2 separate regions of the Homo sapiens genome follow, and region 2 is linked to region 1. Evidence: promoter capture Hi-C in 16 types of primary human blood cells and fetal thymus (Javierre and others, 2016). All regions are on one chromosome and are shown on one strand. The core of a region is centred on a gene start or on the middle of the fragment in contact, and the rest is flanking DNA. Distances in the headings are between cores, read along the strand shown. Region 1 holds the start of FOXC2 (forkhead box C2). Region 2 has its middle 110 kb from the start of LINC02181.

Region 1 (7,386 bases), core at 2,538-5,037:
ATTGAGGGTTGCGTTTACTTGTTGAGTTTCTTTAATCCTTGTGACCAACAGCAGTTCTCACTACCCACCCGCTTCTGTAGTCCTTTCTGGCCCTGCCCTTTGTCGATGGCGCAGCATGGCTTTCACTCACCGGAAAACTCACACACAGTAAAATGAGCTTGAACTGAGTTTTAGAAAAGACACTTTTTTTGTCCCACAAAAGTTTAGAAGCCGGATTACAATGGATTTTTAGGAGGTGGCGCCGACTTTGTGTAACCCAAGGGCTCCTCGGTTCTCAGGCAGCTTCTGGAAGCCTGGGACTCCTCTGCCACCCGATCCCTTTCCTCAAAACCAAGGCACCTCGTGACCCCAGAAAAGAAATGTTTGAAGGATATTGAAATGAATGAATGGGAAATAGTGAGACAAGAAACAAAACTCCTTTCACTTGTCCCCTCTTTGAGTTCTCTGTTGTACCTCAAAAGTAGAAGTGGCTGCTGCCCAGTTTCAAAGTCTGCCTCTTGTTCAAGCCAACCCTCTAAACACACGACCAGCACAAACAGCTTTCTGATGAATTCCCTGAAGCTCACGCCACACCTCGGGCAGAAAGACAGCTGCAGCGGGAAAACATGGACGAGGCAATTTGTTCAACAACTCCGGGGGAAGAAAATGCAGACTTCTAGCCACCTAAGAGGCATAGATTTTATTTGGGGAAAACCCCAGCAAGTTTCCCTAGAGAAAATTTCTTGCTCCCCGAGCAGTTTCAAAGACATTTTTGTTTCCCAACAGATCATGTTCTTGACACGTTGCGAAGTTACGGGAAATGTTTTTTAATCGACGCGATGCAGTTTATCTCCTTTCTCTGCTTTTACAGATTTCTGAAGGCTCCATTCCAGCCGTGCAATGCCCAGGAGTATCCACAAGGTGTCAGCACCTTCATGATAAGCAGGGCGGGCCGGGCGGTCTTTTTCTTTTTCCTTTTCTCGTAGTAGTTCCCTGGTTGGCCTCAAGATGACGCCAACACCCACGGAGTCCGCCCAGCCGCTCCAGGTGCAGCGGCCACGGGCCGGGAGGAGCGCAGCGCGGTGGGGGCGGAAGGCGAATTAAATACCTTTAGGCTTTATCGCCGCTTATTATTCCAGGAACACGCGAGGCCCTCTGGGACCCGATTCCGCGTTCGGCTCACTGACTTACAAGGTCAAGAAGGGGGAAAATCAGCCAGAAAGTAGCAGCCCCCCATCCGAAATACCCTGGCAGGTTAAAGAAAAGCTGGGAAATACGGTTTTTGCAAAGTCCAGGTGTATGGAAGGCGTTGTTTTAATAACCTGAACAAACATCTTTCCCGGAGTCCCACTGAGCAAACAAGAAACCTAATTCCAGGGGTAAAGGGAAGTGTCTCTCTCACCTTTTCTGTCTTGATGAGACGAATTTCTTTCCCCTCCCCTTTTCCTTTCTTTGGGGCGGGGGAGGGTGGATAATATATTGGGCGACTCGATTTAGGTGTTTGTTTGTTTGTTTGTTTGTTTCCCCAGATGACATTGGTTTAAACCGGGACACCCTTGTGAATACAAACGTAGGCAGCAACTGCCATTTTGGAATTTATTTTTTCATAGTCCTTAGCTATTTTAGGTTTTGCTGTGATAAAGCTGTTTCTCTCTCTCTCTCTCTCTCACACACACACACACACCCCTCGTAAAAGCAGAGTAAATAATATTCCTCCAGGAAGCCTACAGGCTGAGGAGTGTTTCTTGATCAATAGTTTGCATTTCCAGTAAAATCGTGACACGAACTCAGTGTGCCTGTCATGCGCTGCAGGAGAAGGGCACTTTTTGCTAGTCCTTTTTTTTTTTTAAGCTAGATGCGGAAATACTAGCTTATTAAAAATAATAAAGTCATGGTGGGAGTTTAGGGTTGGGGCAGAAAGCTCAAATCATTTGCCTGTGAGCTGAGAACTGGGCAGCTTTATTTTACTTTGTTTCAAAGAAAGAAGAAAAAGGATCAGGTTAGAAAAAGAGCCCAGAATACTCATAAAAACAATGTTTCAGAAGTGGAATATTCAAGGTAAAGGAACCTGATTTGTAGCTTCCCTTTGGCTTTGAATTGATCAGGAGACAAAGATAATGCATCTACATTTTCGTCTTCTGTTCTTTTATTGGAAATAAGTGGCACGCCCCATTGCCTTCTAGTCGCCTCCCCGAAGCGAAGAGGCCGAAGCGAAGAGGCCTGGTGGGTTGTCTCAACATCCTTTTGCTGAGAATCGAATACGCAGCCGATGAACAGCCAGGAAGGGTGCAAGGAAACCTGAAATACAAATGTTCTCCCTGAAGCCCTCTTCCCTGCCCAACCAGACCAGCAACTTCCAAAATTCTGCCCGTGTTTAGCCTTGTTAAAGGGGTGTCTCACTCCTTCAGGGAAAGTGGGAAAAGGGGATCTGATTATTGAGGTGTGGAAGGAATAAATAATCAGTCCACAAATAAACAAACTGTCCGGGATTCCTAGAGGGAAGGAGAAATCCTTGAAGGAGATCCAAGTCGCTCCAGGTCTGCCTGCCGAATAATATCATCCCGAAGGGATCTTGAACCGTTTGCAATCAACCGCTCACCCAGTCTTCCCACGGAGCGCGCTCCCTAACTCACCCTACCCACCCAACAAAACAAAAAAAAGGCTGAAATATAGAAAAGCAACTTGGAGGCTCCCAGGGGGACGTTGCCAGGAGCAGGAGGCAGGGACAGCGCCCTAGGGTCGGTGTTAGCGGCCGGCGCCGGCCTGGGCCACGGGAAACGTCCACGCTTGGTGCCCGCGGTGCGCGGCGCTCATTGCGCGCGCCTTCGAGCCAAGCCCCCGCGGAAAACAGGCTCGGGTTTCTCCTCGCAGGGCCCAGGAACTCGGCTCTGCCTGGCCCGGGTGGGTCGCTGCATTGTCCCGGTCTTCTGGGAGTGCGGGGTCAGCTTGTTAGAGGGAATTTCTACCTGGGAAAAGGGAGACGAGTTTCGAAGCTGAAGTTGGTAGGCTGCGAGTGTCCACGCGGGAGACGAAAGGGGGAAATAGCAGAGTCACTTCACCCTTTTCCCCAAACCCCACAAAACTGCTCGCAGCGACGCGGATGATCTACCGAATTCCCCGCGAATTCGGAGGATTAAGTTGTCAGTCAGCACGTTGCTACCTTCCCCTCTATGCACTCCGCTGCCTGGCTCCTCGGCGGGGAGCGAGGGAAACTCAGTTTGTAGGGTTTACCTCTAAAACCTCGATAGGTTATCCTTGACGACCCCGAGCCTGGAAACTCCCTGTTGATGATTAATTATTTGATTAAATAAGTATAACATCCAGGAGAGGCCCTGCCATTCCAATCCAGCGCGTTTGCTTTGAATCCATTACACCTGGGCCCCCATAATTAGGAAATCTAATTATTCGCTTCATCACTCATTAATAAGAAAAATGTCCCAGGATCATTGCTACTTACAAGGTCTTTGGGAGAGATATTTTACTCTATTAATCCATTCTATTTTATATTTCAAATTGATTTTTTTTAACAGAGGAAAGTGGCTATCTTTTTGTTTTGGGCATGTGGGCCCATTCACCAAAATGTGATCATAAAATAAATTTTAATAAGATATAACTTTTTAAAAAGTTTTCAAGTGAAGACGGAGTCGCCGCGGAGGCCGGGGCGGCGGGGTCTTAGAGCCGACGGATTCCTGCGCTCCTCGCCCCGATTGGCGCCGACTCCTCTCAGCTGCCGGGTGATTGGCTCAAAGTTCCGGGAGGGGGCGTGGCCCGAGGAAAGTAAAAACTCGCTTTCAGCAAGAAGACTTTTGAAACTTTTCCCAATCCCTAAAAGGGACTTGGCCTCTTTTTCTGGGCTCAGCGGGGCAGCCGCTCGGACCCCGGCGCGCTGACCCTCGGGGCTGCCGATTCGCTGGGGGCTTGGAGAGCCTCCTGCGCCCCTCCTCGCGCGGGCCGAGGGTCCACCTGGGTCCCCAGGCCGCGGCGTCTCCGCTGGGTCCGCGGCCGCCCGCCTGCCCGCGCTGCCGCCGCCGGGTCCTGGAGCCAGCGAGGAGCGGGGCCGGCGCTGCGCTTGCCCGGGGCGCGCCCTCCAGGATGCCGATCCGCCCGGTCCGCTGAAAGCGCGCGCCCCTGCTCGGCCCGAGCGCCGCCGCCCGCGCACCCTCGCCCCGGAGGCTGCCAGGAGCCCGGGGCCGCCCCTCCCGCTCCCCTCCTCTCCCCCTCTGGCTCTCTCGCGCTCTCTCGCTCTCAGGGCCCCCCTCGCTCCCCCGGCCGCAGTCCGTGCGCGAGGGCGCCGGCGAGCCGTCTCGGAAGCAGCATGCAGGCGCGCTACTCCGTGTCCGACCCCAACGCCCTGGGAGTGGTGCCCTACCTGAGCGAGCAGAATTACTACCGGGCTGCGGGCAGCTACGGCGGCATGGCCAGCCCCATGGGCGTCTATTCCGGCCACCCGGAGCAGTACAGCGCGGGGATGGGCCGCTCCTACGCGCCCTACCACCACCACCAGCCCGCGGCGCCTAAGGACCTGGTGAAGCCGCCCTACAGCTACATCGCGCTCATCACCATGGCCATCCAGAACGCGCCCGAGAAGAAGATCACCTTGAACGGCATCTACCAGTTCATCATGGACCGCTTCCCCTTCTACCGGGAGAACAAGCAGGGCTGGCAGAACAGCATCCGCCACAACCTCTCGCTCAACGAGTGCTTCGTCAAGGTGCCCCGCGACGACAAGAAGCCCGGCAAGGGCAGTTACTGGACCCTGGACCCGGACTCCTACAACATGTTCGAGAACGGCAGCTTCCTGCGGCGCCGGCGGCGCTTCAAAAAGAAGGACGTGTCCAAGGAGAAGGAGGAGCGGGCCCACCTCAAGGAGCCGCCCCCGGCGGCGTCCAAGGGCGCCCCGGCCACCCCCCACCTAGCGGACGCCCCCAAGGAGGCCGAGAAGAAGGTGGTGATCAAGAGCGAGGCGGCGTCCCCGGCGCTGCCGGTCATCACCAAGGTGGAGACGCTGAGCCCCGAGAGCGCGCTGCAGGGCAGCCCGCGCAGCGCGGCCTCCACGCCCGCCGGCTCCCCCGACGGCTCGCTGCCGGAGCACCACGCCGCGGCGCCCAACGGGCTGCCTGGCTTCAGCGTGGAGAACATCATGACCCTGCGAACGTCGCCGCCGGGCGGAGAGCTGAGCCCGGGGGCCGGACGCGCGGGCCTGGTGGTGCCGCCGCTGGCGCTGCCCTACGCCGCCGCGCCGCCCGCCGCCTACGGCCAGCCGTGCGCTCAGGGCCTGGAGGCCGGGGCCGCCGGGGGCTACCAGTGCAGCATGCGAGCGATGAGCCTGTACACCGGGGCCGAGCGGCCGGCGCACATGTGCGTCCCGCCCGCCCTGGACGAGGCCCTCTCGGACCACCCGAGCGGCCCCACGTCGCCCCTGAGCGCTCTCAACCTCGCCGCCGGCCAGGAGGGCGCGCTCGCCGCCACGGGCCACCACCACCAGCACCACGGCCACCACCACCCGCAGGCGCCGCCGCCCCCGCCGGCTCCCCAGCCCCAGCCGACGCCGCAGCCCGGGGCCGCCGCGGCGCAGGCGGCCTCCTGGTATCTCAACCACAGCGGGGACCTGAACCACCTCCCCGGCCACACGTTCGCGGCCCAGCAGCAAACTTTCCCCAACGTGCGGGAGATGTTCAACTCCCACCGGCTGGGGATTGAGAACTCGACCCTCGGGGAGTCCCAGGTGAGTGGCAATGCCAGCTGCCAGCTGCCCTACAGATCCACGCCGCCTCTCTATCGCCACGCAGCCCCCTACTCCTACGACTGCACGAAATACTGACGTGTCCCGGGACCTCCCCTCCCCGGCCCGCTCCGGCTTCGCTTCCCAGCCCCGACCCAACCAGACAATTAAGGGGCTGCAGAGACGCAAAAAAGAAACAAAACATGTCCACCAACCTTTTCTCAGACCCGGGAGCAGAGAGCGGGCACGCTAGCCCCCAGCCGTCTGTGAAGAGCGCAGGTAACTTTAATTCGCCGCCCCGTTTCTGGGATCCCAGGAAACCCCTCCAAAGGGACGCAGCCCAACAAAATGAGTATTGATCTTAAAATCCCCCTCCCCTACCAGGACGGCTGTGCTGTGCTCGACCTGAGCTTTCAAAAGTTAAGTTATGGACCAAATCCCATAGCGAGCCCCTAGTGACTTTCTGTAGGGGTCCCCATAGGTGTATGGGGGTCTCTATAGATAATATATGTGCTGTGTGTAATTTTAAATTTCTCCAACCGTGCTGTACAAATGTGTGGATTTGTAATCAGGCTATTTTGTTGTTGTTGTTGTTGTTCAGAGCCATTAATATAATATTTAAAGTTGAGTTCACTGGATAAGTTTTTCATCTTGCCCAACCATTTCTAACTGCCAAATTGAATTCAAGAAACCGATGTGGGTTTTGTTTCCTGTACAATTATGAGATATAATTCTTTTTCCCATTGTAGGTCTTTTACAAAACAAGAAAATAATTTATTTTTTTGTTGGTGGATAAAGAAGTCAAGTATCTGATACTTTTTATTTACAAAGTGTGATGGTTTTGTATAGTAGGTTCCACCCTGAGTATTCCTAAAAGAAAAAAAAAAAAAAAGCTTAAAAACTCTAACTTCATCTGTGTTTGTCTTACGTGGTCTTAATCGTTGTACTTACCTTAAAATAAACCCATGTTGTTTTTTCTGCCCAAAGTTTGGACAGTGTGTTTGTGTTGTTGCATTTTTTACAAACGAGGTGTGTTTGCAAACCCACCTGCTTTGATTATTTTTGTTACACAGGTGGGTATATGTGTAGACACATAAAAACGACCAGAGAATAGGAGCACACACCTGCTGTCTTGTTTAGTGACAGAAAAAGGCTTTTGATTAATTTTAAAATCCCACTCTAGGATTTTTTCTTTTCGAGAAACCGCCCAGTTGGAGGGGGCTGCCTGAAGGACCGGACCATGAGTTTGCCGTGATGCATTTTCTTAAATGCACAAAAACATGCTAATTGTCAAAACAAACAGTGCCACTCCATCTCAGTGTCCAGCCGTCCCCAGTTTAGGAGGTGAAGGAAGGGAAGAATAAACATTTCCCGTTTGCTAACTGCAACCCAGGGTGAGTCCTGCTTTCCCCCGATTTTATAAAATTTGAGCCTCTTTGCCTGCTTTAATAGTTTTCCAGAGAATTTGAACTGGGCCAATGAAGGTCTGAAGGGGACGGATTTTCTAGCGTTTGATATCCATCCCCCTTAGCGGCCAGATCAGAGGGGAATTTCAGACTTTATTACTTCTCAATGTCATGTCTAAATCTACACCCTCATCGCAGTGAAAAATTTTAAAACCTCATTACCCTTCAAAAATAATTTATGATATTTTTAGAGTTCTAAATTCAAGTTTTTCAATATGT
Region 2 (7,386 bases), core at 3,519-6,018, 380 kb after region 1:
CAATGTAATGGGTCTTGGGTGGGACTCAGGCACTGGCATTTTTAAGAGCTCCCCAAATGATGCCAATGGGCAACCAGGAGCCAGAGAAGTCAGGGTTTCCAGCCAGACCTCGTTTTTGTCGGGCAGCCTCAGAGGCTCTTCCGGACTAGAGGATGACTCTTCCCTCAAACCAAAGGAATTCAAGGGCCCAGGAAGGAGGTCCACGGCCTGCACAGATGTGGGGAGAGTTTGGCATGGGCCTTTCTGGAAATTCTTTTTATCCTCCCTGTTCCCCCATCATTTTCTCGAGGCAAAAATAAATACCGACATCTCCGCTTGTGTCAAAGTGACGGGTGTGTACGCTCTTCGTGTGAAAAGTTATGCCCTGAAGCTGAGTCATACAACCAAACAAAACCTCGCTGTCAGTGAGTGTATGTGTCCAATATTTCAAGCAAAACTGTTTAAAGCTATTTTTGTAACGTGACGCTAAGTGGATAATGGAAGACTATGGCGAGGCCCGGGGAATGAATGCATTTTTGTCTGCAGTTTGAAAATCAATAGCAGACTTGGAAATCCGATGTGCACTCATGCACGAGACAATCCATGTCATTGAAGTGAGGCCAGTCCACAGCCTTGTGAGGGAGGCCAGCAGCCCAGGGAGCAGGACAGACCCTCCAGCTGCAGCAGGCCCACTCCTGCTTTGGGAAGAGTAGTTGGCCCTCACTGCCAATCCTGGCAAACAACTAATTCCACACCAATGCTGCATGGATCTAAGCACTTTCTGAATCTAGATCTGTGCATGGAGGCACTGAGTTCAGACAGAACATTCAGTTCACTAGGAATGAAGGTCTTGCCCATATCTACCTGGAGACTGGGAGCCTCCTCACCCAGCCTCTGCAGGCCCCAACAAACGTTCTCATGAGAAAGAAAGATGTCATCTCACATGTGCTGTCTTATGAGGAAATGGCAACATCAAGGCAAACAAGCATTCATGTGGGAAGTTCTCAAATTCTCTGGCCTGAATTGTTGATTCTTCAAAGTTGAGGGGACCCTACCCTGGGTCCACATCTGCCTTTTAGTGGCTGCATGAGTCCACTTGGGTTGGGTGTGGAATTCCACACGGAAGTCAGCTTTCTGCGAGGAATTCCCATTAGCTTTATCAGATTCTCCCAGGAACGCTTCAGCCCAAAAGCTGGAGGCTGACCCACCCTCCTACTCTGGCCTACCCAGTCTGTCCAGCTTCCAGAAGCTCCCAACTCACTGTGCTCTTCTGGCTTTTAAACATATATTCTTATTATAGAAGTGATGCATTCTCCTTACAGAAAGAGGAGAAAGTCAAGGTAACACTATGACATCTAGCCTTCCAGACCTCTGATGCTAAAACTCAATTATGACGGTGCTGCCTCCAGCCCCACAACTCTCAGCATGCCGGGAAAAAGTGCAGATTCTTAAGTCCTCTCTGAAGTCCTTGCACTTGACCCTAATGGCAATGGAAGCAGGAAACCTTTATTGAGCCACTACGACAATCCAGCATTATCTCAGTAGATGCTATTATGATCCTATTTCACAGATGAAGAAAATGAGGCTCAGAGAAGTTAAGTCACTTTGCCCGTCATGCCCAGCCTCAACCTACATTTTCTTGGTCACCCCTGTCTCTCCCTGCCAGGTCCTCTCATGCCCTGAACTTTTTGCACACACTCTTCTTCGCCTCCCATGGATGCCGTCCCAACATTTTCCTTGTGCAACACTTACTCTTCAGGGTCCAGAGCAAACGCCACCTCTTGGGTTATATCTCCCTGGTTACCGCCAGGCCATTCCTCGTACCTAGACTGGGGGACATGTGCTTGATCTTGAACTCACTTGAACACCGCTTCTGCTCCATAGACTCTGCCCTTCTAGAGTGTAGGGCCATGGGTGCCCATGGCCCAGGTCCACACCCCTCACCCAGCACTGGGAATCTAATTGCTGCTCAATAAAATCCCATGATAACCAACTGAGTGTTTCCAAATTGGCTCTCTGATATCATCTAGATATGACCTCTCACCTGCCCATAAAATGAAATGAAATCCATAGGACAAAATTTGACCATGAATTTATTCTCATTCTGCATCCAGCCTTTTGAGTGATAATAATAATAATAGCCCATATTTACCGACTCTTGTTTTGGCTGGGTGTCCCCCAAAGCAAACCTACAGACAAGGGATTTAGGGACCTGGGCCCAAGTGAATTACTTTGGAGGTAAATTTAGAAAGTACCAGGAGGGGAATGGGGAAATGAGGCCCAGAGGTGAGAAAGCCAACCATGAATGGGTGGTAGCAGGGTGACTGGACTCTGGTCTGTTGGGACCCTTTATAGAGGCCTGTGGAAGATGCCTCAGAATTATCTTCCCAAGAAACACACGCAGGGGTGTTTCCCATCTACTCCATCCCTCCTCGGGGGGCTGCTCTGAGGACATTGATTCCCTGCACAGCCCAAGGATGCTCTTTCAGCCTAGAAAGTTCTCTGGTGGAGGGAGGCAAGTGCTGAAAGAAGGAAGCTATGAGTGGGCTCAGGAATGATCCACCAAAGTTTCTGGCCTCTGGGGAGGCTGAGGGGGAATCTGGCCACTCCAGGTTTGCCACAAATGTTTTTGTCTGTGCCAGGAACACTGCCAGGGACTTTGCAGTCATCTCCTGTTCTGATTTTACCTTAACCCTCCCAAGAGGCAGTATCTATTGCCCACCAGTCTTATCACCATTTTAAATAGGAGAAACTGAGATTCAGGGAAGTGAAGGAGTTTGCCGGTGGTCATTCTGAGCAGCTGGAAAGAGAGACCTTGAAACCCATTTATCTGTCTGATTCCAAATCCCAGACCCTAACCGCGGTGTGGGGGCTTCCAGAAAAGCAAGCCCGAGGAAAGGGTCTGGATGCCACCCCATGGGGGCCATGTCGGGTAGGTGGTAGCCGCAGAGGAAAAGCTGAGTCACTGCACCTGAAATTCTGCTGATCGGACCCATCCGCACACTTTTAGGAAAAACAAGCCACTCTCTTTGATCAATGTCCAGGGCCATGATGGGCTCAGGTTCAAAAACAACACATCCCTAAAGTGTGGAAGCCCTTTGGGTTCTGGGAAAGTGGGAGAATGGATTTGCTCTTCCTGAAGTTTATTCAAGGTTTCCTCCTCACTGGGTTGCCCAAGCCTCCTTGGGAGAGGCAGCGTGGCAGCAGACCCCTCAACCACGCCAACACGGCAGGGCTCAGGGCAAGGACGGACGGCGCCAGCCCCGTCAGCACATGGCAGGATGCAGACCTTTCAGGAGAGACCTTGAGGAAGCACGGAGTCCAGAGGAAGGCCTCAGTTTCCCTGCAGGTGCACCCTTTGGGTGGCCACGGGCCGAGAGCTGTTCTAACCATGCGTGTGTGTTCCGCAGCTTCCAGCAGCACCAGCACTGTGAAATACCCAATCAAACAAGTCCAGCCGAGTTTAGGGCATACCCTCATTATCACAGTAAACGTCAGCATTGTATTCAGCCAAGAAAAGAACGACCTATGGGATTCTTTCTTTCCATAGTCACTTAAACTCTTCCAAATTTTTAAATACTTTCTGAAATTTTTCCTAGATCTTTTTATCACATACCTGTGCAACCAAAGTTTCACATCGATAGTGACTTCAAGATTTTGAAGAGGGACGTTCACATGTCAGCCAAGAATTGCACATAGCTATTTCCAGCATAAAACCTGACTTCCTTTAAGAAAGCTATGTTTGGGGAGGTGGTGGGTAAAAGGAGTGACTTCTAACAAGCATGGTTTTTCGGGGGCGATGATGAAAATGTTCTAAAATTGATTATTGTGATAGTTGCATAAATCTGTGAGGACACTAAAATCACTGAACTGGAAACTTTCCATGGCTGAATTCTACGGTAGATTAATTACACCTCAATAAGACTGTTATGAAAAAGAAAGTTACATTCACAGAAGTACGCTAAAGCTTCTCATTAACATTTTTGAAATGATTCATTTGGGCACTGCCTATTCAAATATAAAGTCATTTATTATTTATTTCATGTAAATGAAAATAGAATTAGCATCCTATTTTCCTGTAATTATTTTACAGAAAGGAAACAGGGACGCCCCCAAATCCTCTGCTTACCCCACCACCGTGCATACAGATATGGTTATCGTGTATGTGTCACCCTGCAGGAATGATGGGAATGTCCTGAAATAAAGTCCTTTGGTCCTCTATACAGGACAGCCAAGGAGATGGAAAGATCAGATGACACTGAAAATATTCACGGCCAGCCTGGCTGGGGCCTGGGCAGTCAGAACAAACACCCCTGGAGGCATTGGGCCCCAGCAGGTACCCTCGGGTGAGTAAGGGCTGCAGGTTAAACTGCTCAGGTTGGGGAAGCAAACTCCTCCCTCGCCTGACCCCCACCTCCCCAGACAGGCTGCTGCCTTCAGCCGCTTCCCTGTCTCTCTCCCTTTTCTGCTCCAAGGGGGGATTTTTTTTTAGCTTTTATTTTAGGCTCAGGGGTACACGAGCAGGTTTGTTATACAGGTAAATTGCCTGTCGCAGGGGTTTGGTGTGCAGACTGTTTCCCCACCCAGGTGATAAACATAGCATCCAGTAGTTTTTGGAATCTCACCCCCTCTCCCCCACACCATCAGGTGGGGGTCTGCAGCCCAGCTCAACTGCCGTGCCTGGGAAAGCTCTGCAGACCCCCTCCAGGCCTCATCATCTCCATCCTGCTGTGAGCAGCTAGGCTCCTGGCTTCTCCTGCCGCGTCCCCCAACATGCTGATGCTGCTGACGGTGTGTGCACCCTCCCGCTCCACCTGTTGGTCCAAACCAGCCCCATGTTCCCTCCTCCTGGTGTCCTTGGCCACCTCAGGATGAGGGAAGGGGCCAGGGGATTCTCTGCGTGGTCACTCGGTCACTCCGCAGACCTCGCCATCCAACACCCTCTGGCCTCCCAGAACTGCTCTGCTGGCCAGTGTGGCTAACGGGTGCTCCAAGGGCCATGCTCAGAACCACTGTCTTTGTCCTCAAGAGGATGGTGAAGGGTGAACACTTTCCCTTGAACATTTTCTTTGAAGACAACCTGTTGACGAGTTTACGGAGTGGCAAGTCCCAGCTATGGGAGGAGCTCTGGGGTCCACCAGGCCCAACCCGTCCTCTGCCTGCCACTTATGGACCCCTTCAACGAGCCAGGCACTGAGCTACCCGGCCACAGGTTTCTCTCATCTCCTCACAGCTGCCCTAGGAGAGGGTCTTGTTATCCTCATATGGGGAAACTGAGGCACAGGGGGAGAACTAGCTCACAGAACCAACTCCCGAGTGACAGAGGCAGGCTGAGAAACCTGCTGCCCGCTGCTAACCCATACTGAGCGTCCCGAGCCAGGACCCTCATCGTACACTTGCACACCCAGAGACACATCAAGCCACGGGCGTCCCCACCTGCACAAAGGTCAGTGCGTAGGGCTCAGATGGCAGAGATGGCTGCGAAGCCACAGCCCCTTCACCCACCTTCTCACCCTGCAACTGTGATGAGTTGCTGCGCTCTGTGTGTCTCAGTTTCCTCATCTGTACCCTGAAGATACTAGTACCTGCCATGCCATATCGTGTTACGAAAATAAGCTTCTGTGTGAAACATATTATGTATTTTAAAAACTTAGACTACGTGTCCAACACCATGACACGCTGCTGTGACAGCTACTGCTATTAGTGCCGCTGTTGCCTCTGCCCTGCCACTAGATAAGGTCCTTGTGGCCACGCCAGGAATGATACAGGGAAGCCCAGGAGCTCTGAAGCTCCTGCCCTTCACAGGAATTGAGCCCACTCAGCCACTCTGCTCCTGCTCCTGCTCCTGCTCCTGCTCCCACTCCCCGAGCTTCCACGGACAAATCCTGCCAGGAAAGGCTCTGCCCTGAGCACCTCCGCCCCCACCAACGCCACACATCTTCATGACGCCAGTCCTTCTAGGAGTTTCCGCATGTGCACCCAGGTGTACCTACGTACCCAGACATCTCTATCACCTGTGTGCATGCGTTATTTTCTGAGCTAAATTCCGGGACCAGCATTGGAGGGCGGTGAGCATATGCAGGTGAAAGAAGGAGGCTGGACTAGGAAATTTCCATCAGTTCCCAATGGAATCCTCTCTTTGAGCCCCCTAGGACTGACCATTCAGTGCTATCACCTGGAGGAAGAGGTGTGGAGGGAAGACGCCACCTTCTCCAGAAACACATGAGATGGACAAGCTCTCTCAGTGCTGGGTAGTTTCACGCACATTGCGTGTGTGCTGACTCAATCTCCCAAAAGGTTTACCTCAAAGGATGGAACCCAAAGACAGTTATTTCCATTTTCATCTCCATTTTACAGATGGGGAAACTGACAGCCATGGGGGAGACACTTTCCAAAGGTCAGGACAGTGCAGAGGGAGCAAAGCTGGCATGGAGAGCCCTCAGGCTGCTGCGGAGGCCCCGCGTTCAGCAGTGACATCACACTGCCTCTCTGACTTTTCTTTGCCAAAAGAAAGAATCCCAGGACCCAGAGAGGACCTTGGAGGTCCTCTAAGCAATTCCCTCCTCTCTGTTCTCAAACCACTTGGAGATGGGGAAACTGAGGCATGAGGGGCTAAGGGAAGTTTCTGAATCTACAAGGCAATCAGAGACCTTCTTTAACCAGGTACGCCTAGCTCCTGCCCTTTGAGTCAACAGCCTCTCTGATACTCTTAGAAACACAGCAGGAAGAAAAGTTCACGCAAGAAAGCAAGCCCATTTTTTCACTTTTTTGTGAGGAGAAGGATTTCATATAGGACGTCGCACAGTGAGTGCATCCACCATAGACGCACATGCATGCCCTCTCCCCGTCCAGGGAAGCAAGCAGCCAGCTCTAATGATAATACGTTTCCTGAGAACTTTCCACTCGCTCTGAAGCACTTCTAATTGTGTCTGGAGCCTTTCCTTCCTACCCCACAGGATGAGCCGGGACATGCCGCTCGCGAGTTTTCTCTCTTACACTGGCCTGGAGCTGTGCCAGGAGCCTTGGAGCCGAGTTGAAGGGGATTCCCAGCTCCCCACATCCCACCATCTCTCTGGGCTGCATTTTATCACCTGCAAAGTGGTGAGAGAGCAATACCTGCTTCCACGTGCAGGTGTTCCTGGAAGGATTCAGTGGATGGCGACTGCGGGTCATCCAGCTGCCACTGGTCCATGAGTACCAGCTGTTCTCACGGTGGTTCTGAAAGGGGTAGACAGAGGCAAATTGGTTCGTTTCTTCTTTGTTGTGAAGCCACGATTATCTTTTAAGGCACTCTGAGGATTAACAGCAACTACCTTCTCTTTCCTGAAGCCAAATACTTCTTCAAGAACACCTGGGGGTCTGGGCCAGCCTGTCCCCAGCTGGTTTCACAAGTCAGCAGGTGTCCCC

The links. The method cuts DNA at HindIII sites, captures the fragments that hold promoters and counts their contacts. A CHiCAGO score of 5 or more calls a contact.
Region 2: a contact is called between a fragment that was not itself captured here and the fragment with the promoter of FOXC2 in region 1, in 1 of 17 cell types (endothelial precursors). The highest score is 6.2, in endothelial precursors.

What each region holds. Positions count from the first base shown.
Region 1 is chr16:86,563,042-86,570,427 of GRCh38, forward strand. It overlaps FOXC2 (forkhead box C2), which reads left to right and starts at 3,788. Exons shown (of 1, transcript NM_005251.3): 1 at 3,788-6,687. The coding sequence starts at 4,295. The coding sequence ends at 5,800. It overlaps FOXC2-AS1 (FOXC2 antisense RNA 1), which reads right to left and starts at 4,720. Exons shown (of 2, transcript NR_125795.1): 1 at 4,576-4,720; 2 at 2,104-2,277. RefSeq lists enhancers at 3,923-4,507, 4,508-5,091, 7,300-7,386. The HindIII fragment of the contact is 11,287 bases long and covers 1-6,592 here.
Region 2 is chr16:86,942,369-86,949,754 of GRCh38, forward strand. No RefSeq gene overlaps it. Among named protein-coding and RNA genes, the nearest start is that of LINC02181, 110 kb to the right of the region's middle. The HindIII fragment of the contact is 1,649 bases long and covers 3,945-5,593 here.